5 separate regions of the Homo sapiens genome follow, and all the other regions are linked to region 3. Evidence: promoter capture Hi-C in 16 types of primary human blood cells and fetal thymus (Javierre and others, 2016). All regions are on one chromosome and are shown on one strand. The core of a region is centred on a gene start or on the middle of the fragment in contact, and the rest is flanking DNA. Distances in the headings are between cores, read along the strand shown. Region 1 has its middle 31 kb from the start of CD69. Region 2 has its middle 17 kb from the start of KLRF1. Region 3 holds the start of CLEC9A (C-type lectin domain containing 9A). Region 4 has its middle 5.9 kb from the start of GABARAPL1. Region 5 overlaps KLRF1 (killer cell lectin like receptor F1).

Region 1 (2,700 bases), core at 82-2,581, 240 kb after region 3:
GTACCTGTGGATGAGAAAGAAAGGATTGGGCAAAGGCAGATATTGAATTGTGATGCAGTAACACAAAGGCTTCAGCTAACAGTATAGGGAGCTCTGGAGGTGAGTGCCCTTTCAAGTTTATCTTGATATAAGGCAACAAGTCCAAGCTTTTATACTCCCACACGAACCAGCCGTTTGATACATCTGGCACTGGGAGAAAGTGTGACTTTGAGAAGGCACTTCTGTTTAGCTGAGAGCCATACAAGGAAGATTCAGTTGAAAGCTTCTGACTCCCAGGTGCTGAGACAATGAGGCTTCAGTCCAAAGTGGAGACACACCATTGCACCCATTGTAAATGGAAAACCAGTTTTTAAATCAAAAGATAAGGAAGACATATATATATATATACACACACACACACACATATATATACATATATACACACATATATGCAGATAGATAGATAGATAGATGGATAGATAGATAGATAGATAGATAGATAGATAGATAGATAGATAAATTTTCCTGATCAGACTCCTTTGCTTAGGGCTAGCAGCATATATCCAAAAGTCCATTAAAATATCCAACTCAATCTCCCACATATTCCAGAAACAAAAGTGATCATTTTGATTCTTTTCTAAATCTAATTTTACCCCCTAATTTCTGACTCATTTGAAAGAATACTGCCCACAGTTTTAGGAATCAAAGCATGAAGGCCATCCTTGACTCTCTGTCTGCATTTTTTTCTGATTAAATGACCCTACCTAATAAATCATAGACTGTAATGACTAGTAATGTCTTTAATTCAACAACTTTCCATCATCTCTACTTCCACTGCATTGGTCTTAAAGGCAGTCATCTCTCTATGGTATCCCTTTATTCCAGTTCATCTTGCACCTGTTAGACTGAGTAACTTCCAAAAATTGCACCTGTTAACTTCCAAAAATTAATATCTAATTGCAATTTGTCCCAAATTTATAAGAATTTATTACTTTCTTTCTGCACTTAGAATAATTCCAGACTATTTAACAGCATTGATTTCACCCTGTAATCTGGCTTTGTCTCTTGTTCCATTCTTCAGTCTCACTGTAGTGGACCATTCTTTCTCCCATCTCTAAGACTTGTACATTTTACCCTTGTCTACAAAGTTGTTGTTGTTGTTGTTTTTCCTCTGCCTTATTCACCTGGAAAACTGTCTCATCTTTCACTTCTCAGATTAAATATTTACATAATTTTATAGAATGCCACCTTGAGAATAAATTCTCCAAGATGTGTTCTACATGCCCTCATAATTACCTGCTTAATTGTCTTGCCAGACATGAGCAGAAACAGTGGAATAAAGACCTACAAAAAGCTATTCCTTCATAAAATCAACAAGAACATTGACAAAAACTGTCAAAACAAACTTCCTCAGAATACTGTGAATTAACCAAAGACTTGCAAAAATCTGGCAAGCATTTACTCAAGAAAATAGGTGAATTTAATTGAAAACAGTGACCTTTGTGGAGATTTAACTTGCTCTATTCCTATTCCGTATTCCTCAGCTTCACAGTAGCCTTGAAAAACTATAGTAGGTCTTACAACTATAGTAGCAGTAGTGAACTGTAGCCCAACAGGTCTCAGAGGGGCCATAAAGGGTTTAGAAGTCCCAAAAATTATTCTTAGAGTACTGTCATTATTCAAACTATCAAACATGATCTTGGAAATTCCCACCTACGACTTTAGTTGATCTCAAACAGAGCTCGCTCAGTGCAAATGACTTTTTCCCTAGGGGTATTTGACAAAAACAATCAGCACCTATTGCTGTACATTGCAGCTGCTTAATATGGAATAACAGCTGGGGCAAAGGAAAAGCTGACCAAAAAACTTAAGAGGGAAACTTAAGGGATGGGCTGCCTATAGTAGTTCATTGAAATGATACAAAATATTGATACAGCTTCAATGAATGGAGGAACACCAGAGTCCTTTGTCTCACGCCAATTTAGATAAGACAACATGGACACACATGGAGTGGTTTTAAGGAACAGAGAGTTTAATAGGCAAGAAAGAAAGAAGAAGCTCCCAGCTACAGAGACGGGGGGTCGGTGAGGGGTGGGGGTGGCTCCAAGCAGAGAGAGGAAACCCCAAGTATGGTGGAAACAATCTGTTATATTAGAAGGCTGGAGGAGGTGGTGTCTGATTTTTATAGGCCCAGGGGATTGGTTTGACTTAGTATGTCATTCACATAGCCTGCAAAAAAACTGGCTCTCCCACCCTAGTCTTTTAATATGCAAATGCAGGCCGCCATGATTTTCTGCACAGTGGAGACCTCTGGGGGTGCCATGATGCTTGGCACATGTGGTGACAAGGAGAAGAAGGTGGGACTTGCCATATTGGATGGACCCAGCTTCTAATAGCCAGCATTTGCATATCAAAGCTTGCTGGCTTGGCCCTTCAAGCCATTTTTTTGCTAAAAAAGAAATGTTTCTGGAGCTGCTTTTATTTAAAGAAAAAAACCTTACCAAGGACCACTTATCCTATCTGCCTGAAATAATTTCTTAATAATTTCTATAATAATATGATCATCAATATCATGAAAATGACCACACTGCCCAAAGCAATCTACTGATTCAATGCAATTCCCATGAAAATATCAACATCATTTTTCACAGAACTACAGAAAACAATTCTAAAATTCATATGGAACCAAAAAAAGAGCCTGAATAGCCAAAGCAATCCTAA
Region 2 (2,700 bases), core at 195-2,694, 220 kb after region 3:
CAGAATTTTCCCAACCCTGCTCAGTATGTATGTAAAACTGACTGTATAAGACATGTATACCAGCCCCCTCTCACTTCTTCAGAGAGTGAACTTTCGGATTTTCCCGAAAGCTGCATTTCCCTAATTCTAGGGTTATTTTTCCCTCTGAAAATAAAGTCTTCTCCTTTCCTTCCTTTGTGGATCTCATGGTCTTTTGATAATGAAGATAATAAAAGATCCAATTCCGCCTAATATCTTAAGTCCAACTTTTATCTAATTTAACACTTTTCCTCTCTCTCAGCTTGGATTGGATCTGCTTAGTTTGGGACCATTAAGGGGGCAAGTGAGTATAACGGGCTCTGCATGAGCTTCTTCCCTCTCTAGTATCTCTTTCCATTCCCCAACCCTGATCCCCAGAATGAGTGAAGGTGAAACAAAGGGAATAGAAATAAACACGGAATAAAGATGTTACCAGCCTGGACAGTTTTAATCTGTATGCTGACACTCCAAATGTTTTCTCTCTTTTTTTTTTTTTTTTTGGACTACTTCTATGGGTTTTTCAGAAATTCTGCTCCTGGGGTACTCTGCAGTTGTCTGATGTGTGATGTCTCCTTTGGCAATCCTGCTTGCAAATCACTGTACCTCACCCCTCACAACTCCCCAGGTACCTTTTTTTTTTTTGCTTTCTACTCTATACTTCCAGCTTCTTTTCATTGAGGCTGACTTGCCTGTGGTAAGAAGCAGTCTTAGGTGAATTTTATTTTAGGATGGTTCCCAAATGGCTGCTTTGTATGAGATCTTCATCCGGCCCACAGGAAACACTCCCTTCAGCCTCACCATTGCTGGAAGTGTGGCTTAATCTACACATCTGCTTTTACTCTGTGGTTATGTGTAGTTCTAACAAACTCACATACTGAAAGTGTTCACCTCTGCAACCTCCAACTCCCAGAGGACACTTGCCAATATATGACAGAATCCAAACTTGGCTTAAGGTAAAAGAGAAGTTCTTTTGCTTATTGACACAGAAAGATATTGGGAAATGGGAAGTACACTGGCAAGTCACTTCATAAAAAAAATTCTCACTTCCTAATCTCTGAACACTCATAAACTCTTAATGTGCTCTGAAAGTAGATGATAGATCGAAATTTGAAATAAACACTTTTGCAAGCTTGTTAGCATGTCCTATATAGGAGGTCTAGCACCTATAGAATTGTTCTTGACATTTGTGCCCTCAGATAAAAGTAAACAGCAGGAATGACCACATTTTAATATCCTACTAGTCATTCAATATTTATGAATTATTTTCTGAGGACTTATTACATGTCAGACACTGTTTGGGGAGTCTATTTTAGACTTCAAACATCTTTTAAAAACAAACATTTCATTAAACTATAGGTGAAAATTTAAGCATATAGTCATTAAGTTTGTGAATCAGACCTATCTTGGAGAGGAATTTAATTTGTTTAAATTTATCAAAGGACACACAAAAGATAAGCCCTAGTTATTCTAACCACTTATTAACACAGCTACCTGCGATTTCTGGGAGCTTAACTTCCGTTCAGGCTCAGAAACTCTAATTTTGGGAATATACTTGGACCACATTGTTAATTTGGGAGGATTCAGATAAAGTATGAGAAATGCATTCACATTTGACTATGAGAACATCAAGTTATATTGTATAATACCAAAAATAATGGTCCCTTGAATATATCCAGGATGACCTACAAACAGAATTGTTCCTAGATAAAAACCCTCAAGCTTGTAGAAAATCTATGTTGACACTCACTATTCAGATGTTGTCATTCACAACTCTGAGTTTCAGTGATTTAATGATGAAATTTAGGACTGAGAAGCTTGTTTCTTGCAGATTTATCAACCTTGCTAATTGATCTTTATGTCATTCTCCTTTTGTATACTTCAGGTAAATAAATAAATATTTGATTTATTCATGGGGTGATTTTGTTTGATACATTAATCCATAGGCACAGTCAATATTTTCAAAACAGTAGTTTTACATCAAATAAAGCAGCATTAAAAAAAACAGATTTATCAATAGAATAACAACTTTTGAAAGTGGAACTTATTTTTTTAAATCAATTTTCTTAACCTAAGTTTAAATCTAAGTAACCCGCTTTTTCCAACAATAATAACAATTTATCTTTGAATACTACACAAAATCTCATGACATAATCAAAATTAACTGGGGTATATGGATGCTTCTTTCAAGAATTGGTATCAATTCTGCCTTCTGGAGCCAGTAAACTAAGCGTAACATCAATATGACAGCTGTTGGAACAATTTACGTTAACAAACTTATTCCCAGCAGCCCTTTTCCTGATTCTGGCTAAGTAGCTTTAGTTCCTGGAAATAATACTTAAGTTACGGTTTCAACTAATTCAAATCCCTGTTTTTTCTCATCTGTACTCTTAAAAGTAGGCATTTACATATGTGCATGTATGCAGAGGAAAACTAAGAGAAAGTTAAGATGGTTTGAAACAATCACATAAAAATTATTTCAAAGAATTGGGCCAGGAATGGAGGAAAAAAGTCCCACCCTTTCTTTTTAGATATATTTGTATTGATTTTACCTAAAATTCATTACTTCACACAATCTTATTTTGAGCTTGTTGGTCATTGAATTTCCCCTAGTGCTCTTGCATACATCTACAAATAAAGGCAATTCTTCCCATCTTGTTAACTTCTTCAGTTTAGATTTTAATA
Region 3 (2,700 bases), core at 43-2,542:
AAGGCTCAGCCTTGTCTGCATTCCTTTCCCTACCCTCACTTCCCCTTCTACTTGGAATGTTATTTGTAGCATTTGTTTGTCTCCTGTAACCCTGCCAATCCTTCCCAATCCTCAGAGCCTTCACTGACAGCATCGGGCGGCTCACTCGTTCCTGCTGCCATAGTAATTTGTGCGTAACTTTTCTTGAGATTTATCACATCCTGTTATTATATGCTGTTTCTTCTACCGACATTGGTTGCTACTCCCATTTCTCAACCTCCTGGCTTCAAGCAATCCTCCCACCTTGGCCTTCCAAAATGCTGGGATTACAGGTGTAACTAACTGCACCTGGTCTTGCTACTCCCGTTTCTAAATAAAATTTCAATCTGAGTAAAAACTAAAGCCAATTTCTTCCCAAAATGGTGGGGGGCACTGGACACAATATCGAAGACCATTAGCACAATCAGTAGCACCAGACAATGAGTCAGCAGAGTCACTAAAGCCTCAGGCCACGAGTTAGAAGACACTTCACAGATTAAAGGAAATCAACAGAGGAGTAAGAAATAACCAGGGATGGCCTCCTGGAGATTTCGTGTTTGACTCCCTTTCCCTCTCTATCTCTAAAGAGAAAGTGCAGAGGGCATTTTAGACTGAGGGATCAGTAGGAGCAAGAGTAAGGAAGCTACCTGATTTACAGAGGCTGTCTACTGCCTGCAGTATCAGGCCATTGAAATACACTTAACGTCTTTCCACCAGCGGCTCCAGCCTTCCCCTCCACTTGCATCTTCCCTCATCCATCTCTGCAGATGATACATACTCCCACATATCATTCATTATTTCTTAAATATATCAGCTCACACCTTCATATTATTTTACATTTCTTCAGAATCTTTCCTAACCTAGAATGCCCTTTCCCCTTTCTCCTTTAATCATGCCTTTCTTATAAAGTAGGTTCAGATGACCTTCTCTGTCAGCATCATCTGTAATGACATACCTTCCACCCTACTGCCAGTGGTTCTTACCTCTTCTGCAGAGAGTATCATCAGTTTGAATCATTTAGATCTTGGCTAACATGGGAATCTTTACCATTGTGTGGATCAAATACCCAGATCTTGATAAGAAAAATAAAAATGCTATTGTCACATAAATGGCTGGGTTTAATCATCTGTGGGCCTTAGAGTATGTTTTCTTCAGGACAAGGTAGGCCGTTGTGCTTCACAAGAGCTTGCGAGTTATTTGAGAAGAATCAAAACATGTTGCCAGTCTAGCAGAAAAGCATTTCAACTTCACCACAGATTGCCACAGCCGGGTACAAACGGAAGTCCCGCCCCCTTCCAGGTTGTTGGGGTGGGAGCTGCCGGATGAGCTGCTGCGGCCCTCGGGGCGCAGGACCACACCATCTGCGCAGCCTGCACCCTCGCGGCCCGGTAAACTTGACAGTTTCTTATAGAGGTAAGTATAGTATTAACAGACAATCTAGGAACCATAGAAAGTGGAAAACCTGTACACACTGCTGAGACCAGCTCGGTCTGGGAGACCCTAACCCAGAGGCGCTAGAGGAATTAAAGACACACACAGAAATATAGAGGTGTGAAGTGGGAAATGAGGGGTCTCACAGCCTTCACAGCCGAGAGCCCCGAACAGAGATTTACCCACGTATTTATTAGCAGCAAGCCAGTCATTAGCATGGTTTCTGTAGATATTAGGTTAACTGAAAGTATCCCTTATGGGAAACAAAGGGATGGGCCGAATTAAAGAAATAGGTTGGGCTAGTTAACTGCAGCGGGAACATGCCCTTAAGGCATAAATTGCTCATGCTATTGTTTGTGGCTTAAGAATGTCTTTAAGTGGTTTTCCACCCTGGGCGGGCCAGCTGCTCCTTGCCCTCATTCCCGTAAACCCACCACCTTCCAGCATGGGTGTTAGGGCCATCATGAACATGTCACAGTGCTGCAGAGATTTTGTTTATGGCCAGTTTTGGGGCCAGTTTATGGCCGGATTTTGGGGGGCTTGCTCCCAACACACACAAAAACTGGCACACACATTTTCACAGGAGCTTTATTCATAATTGCCAGACATTAGAAGTAATTATGATGTCTTTCAAAAGATGAGTGGATAAACAAACTGTGGTACATTCATGCAATGGAGTATCATTCGACAACAAAATGAAATGTTGTCAAACTATGAAAAACATGGAGGAATCTTAAATGCATATTACTACGTGAAAGAAGCCGGTTTGAAAAGCTATCATATTATCCTAGCTATATGACATTCGAGAAAAACCAAGACAAAGAAAACAAAGAGATCAGTTGTGACCAATGATTCAGGGGAAGAGGAAGATTGATAGGAAGGGGGAAGATTGCTGAGTAGGTAGGGCACAGGGGATTTTTGTCTGCAAAAATGTACACCCATGTACATAAGCAGGGCTCTGAATTTTTTAAACTTTTCAAATTTTGTGGCAGGGCCTATTGAATGGGTTGAGGGAGACCTTCCTGATTGATACCTACTAATGTATATACAAATTTGAGACAGATATTTTGAGGGAGAGTGGAATTCAGGTACAACATACCTATTACCCCAGAAAGGTGTCAAGTGGAAGTAAAAAAAAAAAAAAAGAGGTGTGTGAGGTAAAAAATTAAATTAAATTCTAAATGAGGACATGGAGGTTCTTGTGGAAAGTTTTTTCTTGTATATATATATATATATATATATATATATATA
Region 4 (2,863 bases), core at 92-2,591, 180 kb before region 3:
CATTGCAGCTGCCACTACCTTAGTTTAATCTTCATTTTTTAAAAATTTTGGCTTCGTTCTAATGATCTGTTGCTATATAGCAAACCACCTCAAAGGAATGGCTTAAGATAATAGCATCATCTATTTTGCTCACAAATCTGAAGTAATGGGGCTCAGCTTTGGTTTTAATTAGTGACTGGTGATAGGATCTTCTTGGAAGGCTTCTTCACTAGCAGTTTTGGTAGTTGGACTGGGAAGACTCAAACAATTGGCGCTCCTCAGCCACCTCTTCCTTTCTCTATAGGATCTCACCATGGGTCTCTTCCCATAGTGGCTGCAGGCTAGCTAAACTTCTTTCATGGTACCTATGGGCTCTCTGGGCAAATTTGCCAAAAGAAGTCAGCAGAAAGCACATGGCCTCTTGTAATCTAGTCATTTTAATTTGAAAGGGACACTTCTGCCTCATTCTGTTTCTCAGAGCAGTCACAAAGTTCTGCTCAGATTCAAAGGAAGGTGCCACAGACTCCACTTCTACCTGGAGGAAGTATTGGAGAATCTGAGAATATGCTTCAAAATCACCACTATTGGGCCAGGCGCGGTGGCTCACGCCTGTAACCCCAGCACTTTGGGAGGCCAAGGCGGGCAGATCACCTGAGGTCGGGAGTTTGAGACTAGCCTGACCAACATGGAGAAACCCCGTCTCTACTAAGAATACAAAATTAGCTGGGCGTGGTGGTGCATGCCTGTAATCCAAGCTACTCAGAAGGCTGAGGCAGGAGAATCACTTGAACCCGGGAGGCAGAGGGTGCAGTGAGCCAAGATCGCGGCATTGCACTCCAGCCTGGGCAACAAGAGTGAAACTCCACCTCAAAATAACAAACAAACAAACAAACAAAACATTATTACTCAAACACATTAGTAAATAGTGTTCAGTCTTGTCTTTCCCACTTCTAGGAAAAAGAGAGCTCACTGATGCCAGACTAAATGTAATAAAGCTATATTTCATTGTGTCATTTCTCTTCTTAATATCATTCAGTGGTCAGCATTCTCTGTAATCTTTGGGAGACAGTTCAAATTCTTTACAACGGAAATAGAGTACTTACAATCAGGCTGTTGTTTCTCTCTTGAGGCTCATATATAGCCATTTCCTATCATTGTACTCTATGGTTCAGGCATACTAAATTATTTTCCCTATATTGGTATTGTTTCAGACCACTGGATATTCAAAGCCTCCTTCCTGTGAAAACGTTTTCTCCCTTTTTTTTTCTGACTAGTTTCTATAAAACATTCAGGGTTTAGTTCAGGCATCATCTTCTCTAGGAAACCTTTTGATCTCCTTTGCCTGAGTTCTGTATTCCTTCTAGGCACTTGCAAAGTATTGTGTGCTTATCTTTGCCATAGCACTGATAATGATGCATTGTTCATTAGATAAGATGATGCTGGCTGGGTGTGGTGGCTCACACCTGTAATCCCAGCACTTTGGGAGGCTGAGGTGGGCAGATCACCTGAGGTCAGGAGTTCAAGACCAGTATAGCTAATATGCTGAAACCTTGTTTCTACTAAAAATACAAAAAGTTAGCCAGGCGTAGTGGCTCGCGCCTATAATCCCAGTTACTTGAGAGGCTGAGATAGGATAATTGCTTGAACTGGGAGGTGGAGGTTGCAGTGAGCCGAGATCGTGCCATTGAACTCCAGCTTGGGCAACAAGAGCAAAACTACGTCTCAAACAAACAAACAAACGAACAAAAAACATGATGCCCATTACATGTCCTTTTTTTTTTCGGGTGGGGGGTGCGGGGGGGGATATATGTATGGTTTCAGAAGTAACTACTCTTTTTACATTGACACCGCATGGTTCTAGTGGAACTCACCAATCATAAAATCTCATTGCCTTGGCCATAAGATTAATCAGAATTTTTCCTTAGAATTTCTTACATATGAACTAAAGGAAAGGAGCCCCTTCTTCTTTGATGACGAAGTTTAGATGATGTCTTAGTCCATTCCAGCTGCTATAACAAAATACCATAGACTGGGTGGCTTATAAACAACAGAGATTCATTTCTCACAGTTCAGGAGACTGGGAAGTCCGAGATCAAGGTGCCAGCTGATTAACTATCTGGTGAGGGCCTGCTTCCTCATAGACAGCTGCCTTCTCACTCCAACCTCACATAGCAGAAGGAAAGAAAGAGGGTTCTGTCTCAGGCCTCTTTTATAACGGCACTAATCCATTTATGAGGGTTCCATTCTCATGACTTAATCACCTACCAAAGGCCTCACCTCCTAATAACATCATCTTATGGGTTAGGATTTCAGTGTACAAATTTGGCGAGGAAACACACGTTCAGACCATAGTGGATGCTATGAGATCAGGGGCTGCTATCGTTTTGGTCTCAAGCAGTCACCAGATAAATGAGATAAAGATAACACTCAGAGAGGCAAGTTATATGATAGGGATAGAGAGACATAGAAATATATACAGAGTTTGGGGGAGTTCTAAGGGCATTCAGGTCCCTAGTTTCAGATAGCCCGTTCCAGTAGTGAGAGATAGTTTATTTTCTTATTTTCTGTATATTATGGTGTTTTTACATTAAAAAAAAAATTCTGGCTGGGGAGAGACTGTCTTTACCAGACCTAACCAGTTCTTAGAGATAGCAAGGGCTCAGCTGAGAACCTGCCTTTCATATGCAAACTCACCAATCTAGAGCCATACCTCCTATATCCAACCTGTATATTCCAGGGGGCAACATTTCTCTGCCTTAATCATAGGAGGACCAGTTACCAGGCAACCAGGGACAACCTTTGTGGTTTAGAGCCCATAGAAATATTTCAAACTAAATTCTTTACCCTTCCCTTTCCTGTTTTTCCTATGGCAACCCCAATGAAA
Region 5 (2,906 bases), core at 169-2,668, 200 kb after region 3:
AAGTAAAACTTTCATTATCCTGTGTTTTCTCCTATAAGGAAATGGTTTAATTTAACTTATAAAGGTTAAAACACAAGCCTTTTAACCACCCAAAACCAGAAATAATAAAATGGAAAACCAAAATCAGTCTTATGAATGTCTGTACAAAAATGGTAAATACATTATCAGCAACCAAAATATATTATAACCATGATTGGTTTATTCTAGGAATATAAAGATTATTCAATAGGAGGAAATCCATATTAATATTATATTAATAAAGCTAAGGAAAAAAATCTATCATCATCTCAATAGATGTAAAAAATGAAATTGATAAAATCTTATATCTTTATGTTAAAAAACAGAAATTAATAGATACTTGTTCAACATAATAGTTTTATGTCTAATGAAGCTAACATCTTATTCAATTGAGAAAACTGAAAGAAGGTTTTCTGCTTAAGTCCAGAAAAAGAAAGATAGCTCAAATCTCCACTACTTTTTAATACGAAGAGGTAATATATAATTCAATGAAGAAAAATATTCTAATTACAGGTAGAAATATTAGAAAAAGAAGGTAAAATTATTTGAAGGTAATGTGAGTGCAGATTTGGTAAAATAAAAGAATCAATTGAAAAACTACCGTTAATTCCAGAAACAAAAAATAGTAGCTGCATTTATAAAAATAACATACTAAAATCAGTGCCCTGTATAATCCAGTAACCACTGTGAAAACATAGATGAAAGAAATTCATTACTCACGGATAGTTAACCAAAAAAAACAAACAAAAAGAAAACTAGACAGAAACTCGACAAGTGTCCCAACCCAATACAAACAAAACAAAACAAAACTAACCGAAAACTGAGTAACATTAATTTGATCATGTGCTTGGATAAGAAAACTATGTGTCAAAAATATAAATTCTCCCTAAGCTTAATGACAGACTAGGAAGTAATTTAGACGTAAAAGCTACATCGGGTTGTTTTATTTGTTGTTGTTTGTGGTGAGTGAGCCTGAATAATTTTTTATAAAGTTATCTGAAAGAACAAAAGAGTGAGAATAGCTAAGTAAACACTGGAAATATAGAAATACAAAATGGTAAATTTTATGAAGGGTGCTGGATTTATGCAAGGTGGATTTCTCTGAAAGTAATTTTTTAAACTTTTTAAATTCTTATTTATTTATTTGAGACAGGGTCTCGCTCTGTTGCTCAGGTTGGAGTGCAGTGGCACCATTAGAGCTCTTTGTAACCTTGAGCTCCTGGGCTCAGAGATCCTCCCTCCTGAGCACCCTGTGTAGCTAGGACTACAGGCATGTGCCACCATGACTGATTAATTTTTTTATCTCTATTGTTTGTAGAGATGGGGGTCTTGATTTGTTGCCCAGGCAGGTCTTGAACTCCTGGCCTCAAGCGATCATCCTGCCTCGGCCTTCCAAAGTGCTGGGATTAATGGCATGAGCCACCACACTTGGCCCCTCATTATATAAGTTTGACTGAAAATATGTAAATGTTTTATGCTACTATAAAGTAAGTTAAACAAAAATGAAAAAAAATCCATAAAAAATGAAGAAAAGGAATCTAACTAGGTATTGTTAGTGTCTTCACTATAGAGAGAGGAATTACTTAAAGTGATTTTAAAACATTTAACTGTGCATGCTCAATGGAATATATCTTAAGGATTTTTTAAAACCGCAAAACATTTTAATCTGTTTTAAGTAACTATTATTATAATATTATTTCTATAGTGATTCTGAAACTACTACATATGTATAGTGGGATAGAGCAATTATGTAATTTCTTACTATCACTGGCAACAAAGGTTTTTCAATATATGAGAAAAGATTTACAAATATGTCATCACAAAATTAAGTTAAATGAATGAACATCATAACCCCAAGGCTCACATTGTCAATCTAATTCACATAAAATACGTCTTACCTCAAGCTTTAATAAATATTAGCTAAAGGTACAAGACATAAATATTAGTATGTGTCACTTAAATATCTGGGAGCCGAAAATCTGCACATTTTTGCTTCAGAGAGACATTTATGAACAGAGTGTGGAAAAAAGTCTGCAGAGAAGTCACTACATGTTGTAGTCTTTCAGGTTTAATATCTCTAATTTCCAAAAATGAAATAAAAATTGAGTGTAGGAAGTAAAGACTTGAAAATATGGGAATCTAAAAATTCACATGGAAGAGGCAATAAATTTCTTATACATAGCACGTATGTAACTCTAAGATGAATCACTGATGGATGATACTTGTGGAAGGACTCAAGAGATAAGTAAAATTTTCATGGGTGAAGTTATTAAAAGAGAAATATTTAGAAAGCAACAGAACAGAACAGACAGTCTCTATAACTGTGATTATTTGTGTCTTTAATTTCTGCTTATCTCTTTTGCCAAATCACATTAAGGTGGCATGATGGAATTGCATTGTGTATGGAGGGTATGCTTGAAGTAGCAAATTAAAATGTTGATTGCTGGTGTATAAACTTTATTTTGAGTCAACTTGGTGAAAAGCATAAAGTTTTTGAGAAGTTGAATTAAAAATTAGTATTAAAGGCTGGGCGCGGTGGCTCATGCCTATAATCCCAACACTTTGGAAGACTCAGGTGGGTGGATCACCTGAGGTCAGGAGTTCAAGACCAGCCTGGCCAACATGGTAAAACCCCATCTCTACTAAAAACGCAAAAAATTAGCCAGGCATGGTGGCGGGCACCTATAATCTCAGCTACTCAGGAGGCTGAGGCAGGAGAATTGCTTGAACCTGGGAGGCAGAGGTTGCAGTGAGCCGAGATCATGCCATTGCACTCCAGCCTGGGCAACAACAGTGAAACTCCGTCTCAAAAAAAAAAAATAGCATTAAAACACCATATTCTATGAATGATAAGGAGGTGAATGGCAGCAAATATTCACTAATTTGAA

Evidence for each region. Contacts are between HindIII fragments. The CHiCAGO score rates a contact against its expected background, and 5 or more counts as called.
Region 1: a fragment that was not itself captured here is called in contact with the fragment with the promoter of CLEC9A in region 3 in 1 of 17 cell types (neutrophils); the score reaches 5.1 in neutrophils.
Region 2: a contact is called between a fragment that was not itself captured here and the fragment with the promoter of CLEC9A in region 3, in 6 of 17 cell types (megakaryocytes, M2 macrophages, M0 macrophages and 3 more). The highest score is 13.6, in megakaryocytes.
Region 4: a contact is called between a fragment that was not itself captured here and the fragment with the promoter of CLEC9A in region 3, in 5 of 17 cell types (monocytes, neutrophils, M0 macrophages and 2 more). The highest score is 15.5, in monocytes.
Region 5: a fragment that was not itself captured here is called in contact with the fragment with the promoter of CLEC9A in region 3 in 2 of 17 cell types (megakaryocytes and neutrophils); the score reaches 5.7 in megakaryocytes.

The regions. Positions count from the first base shown.
Region 1 is chr12:9,790,127-9,792,826 of GRCh38, reverse strand. No RefSeq gene overlaps it. Among named protein-coding and RNA genes, the nearest start is that of CD69, 31 kb to the right of the region's middle. The HindIII fragment of the contact is 2,133 bases long and covers 265-2,397 here.
Region 2 is chr12:9,809,138-9,811,837 of GRCh38, reverse strand. It overlaps a transcript of KLRF1 not described here. Among named protein-coding and RNA genes, the nearest start is that of KLRF1, 17 kb to the left of the region's middle. The HindIII fragment of the contact is 590 bases long and covers 1,150-1,739 here.
Region 3 is chr12:10,029,274-10,031,973 of GRCh38, reverse strand. It overlaps CLEC9A (C-type lectin domain containing 9A), which reads right to left and starts at 1,292. Exons shown (of 9, transcript NM_207345.4): 1 at 1,002-1,292. It overlaps LOC102724020 (a long non-coding RNA gene), which reads left to right and starts at 1,351. Exons shown (of 4, transcript NR_169587.1): 1 at 1,351-1,431. The HindIII fragment of the contact is 4,478 bases long and covers 1-2,700 here.
Region 4 is chr12:10,205,562-10,208,424 of GRCh38, reverse strand. No RefSeq gene overlaps it. Among named protein-coding and RNA genes, the nearest start is that of GABARAPL1, 5.9 kb to the left of the region's middle. The HindIII fragment of the contact is 3,050 bases long and covers 1-2,863 here.
Region 5 is chr12:9,828,017-9,830,922 of GRCh38, reverse strand. The region is part of intron 1 of KLRF1 (killer cell lectin like receptor F1); the gene reads right to left. Among named protein-coding and RNA genes, the nearest start is that of KLRF1, 2.0 kb to the right of the region's middle. The HindIII fragment of the contact is 1,013 bases long and covers 912-1,924 here.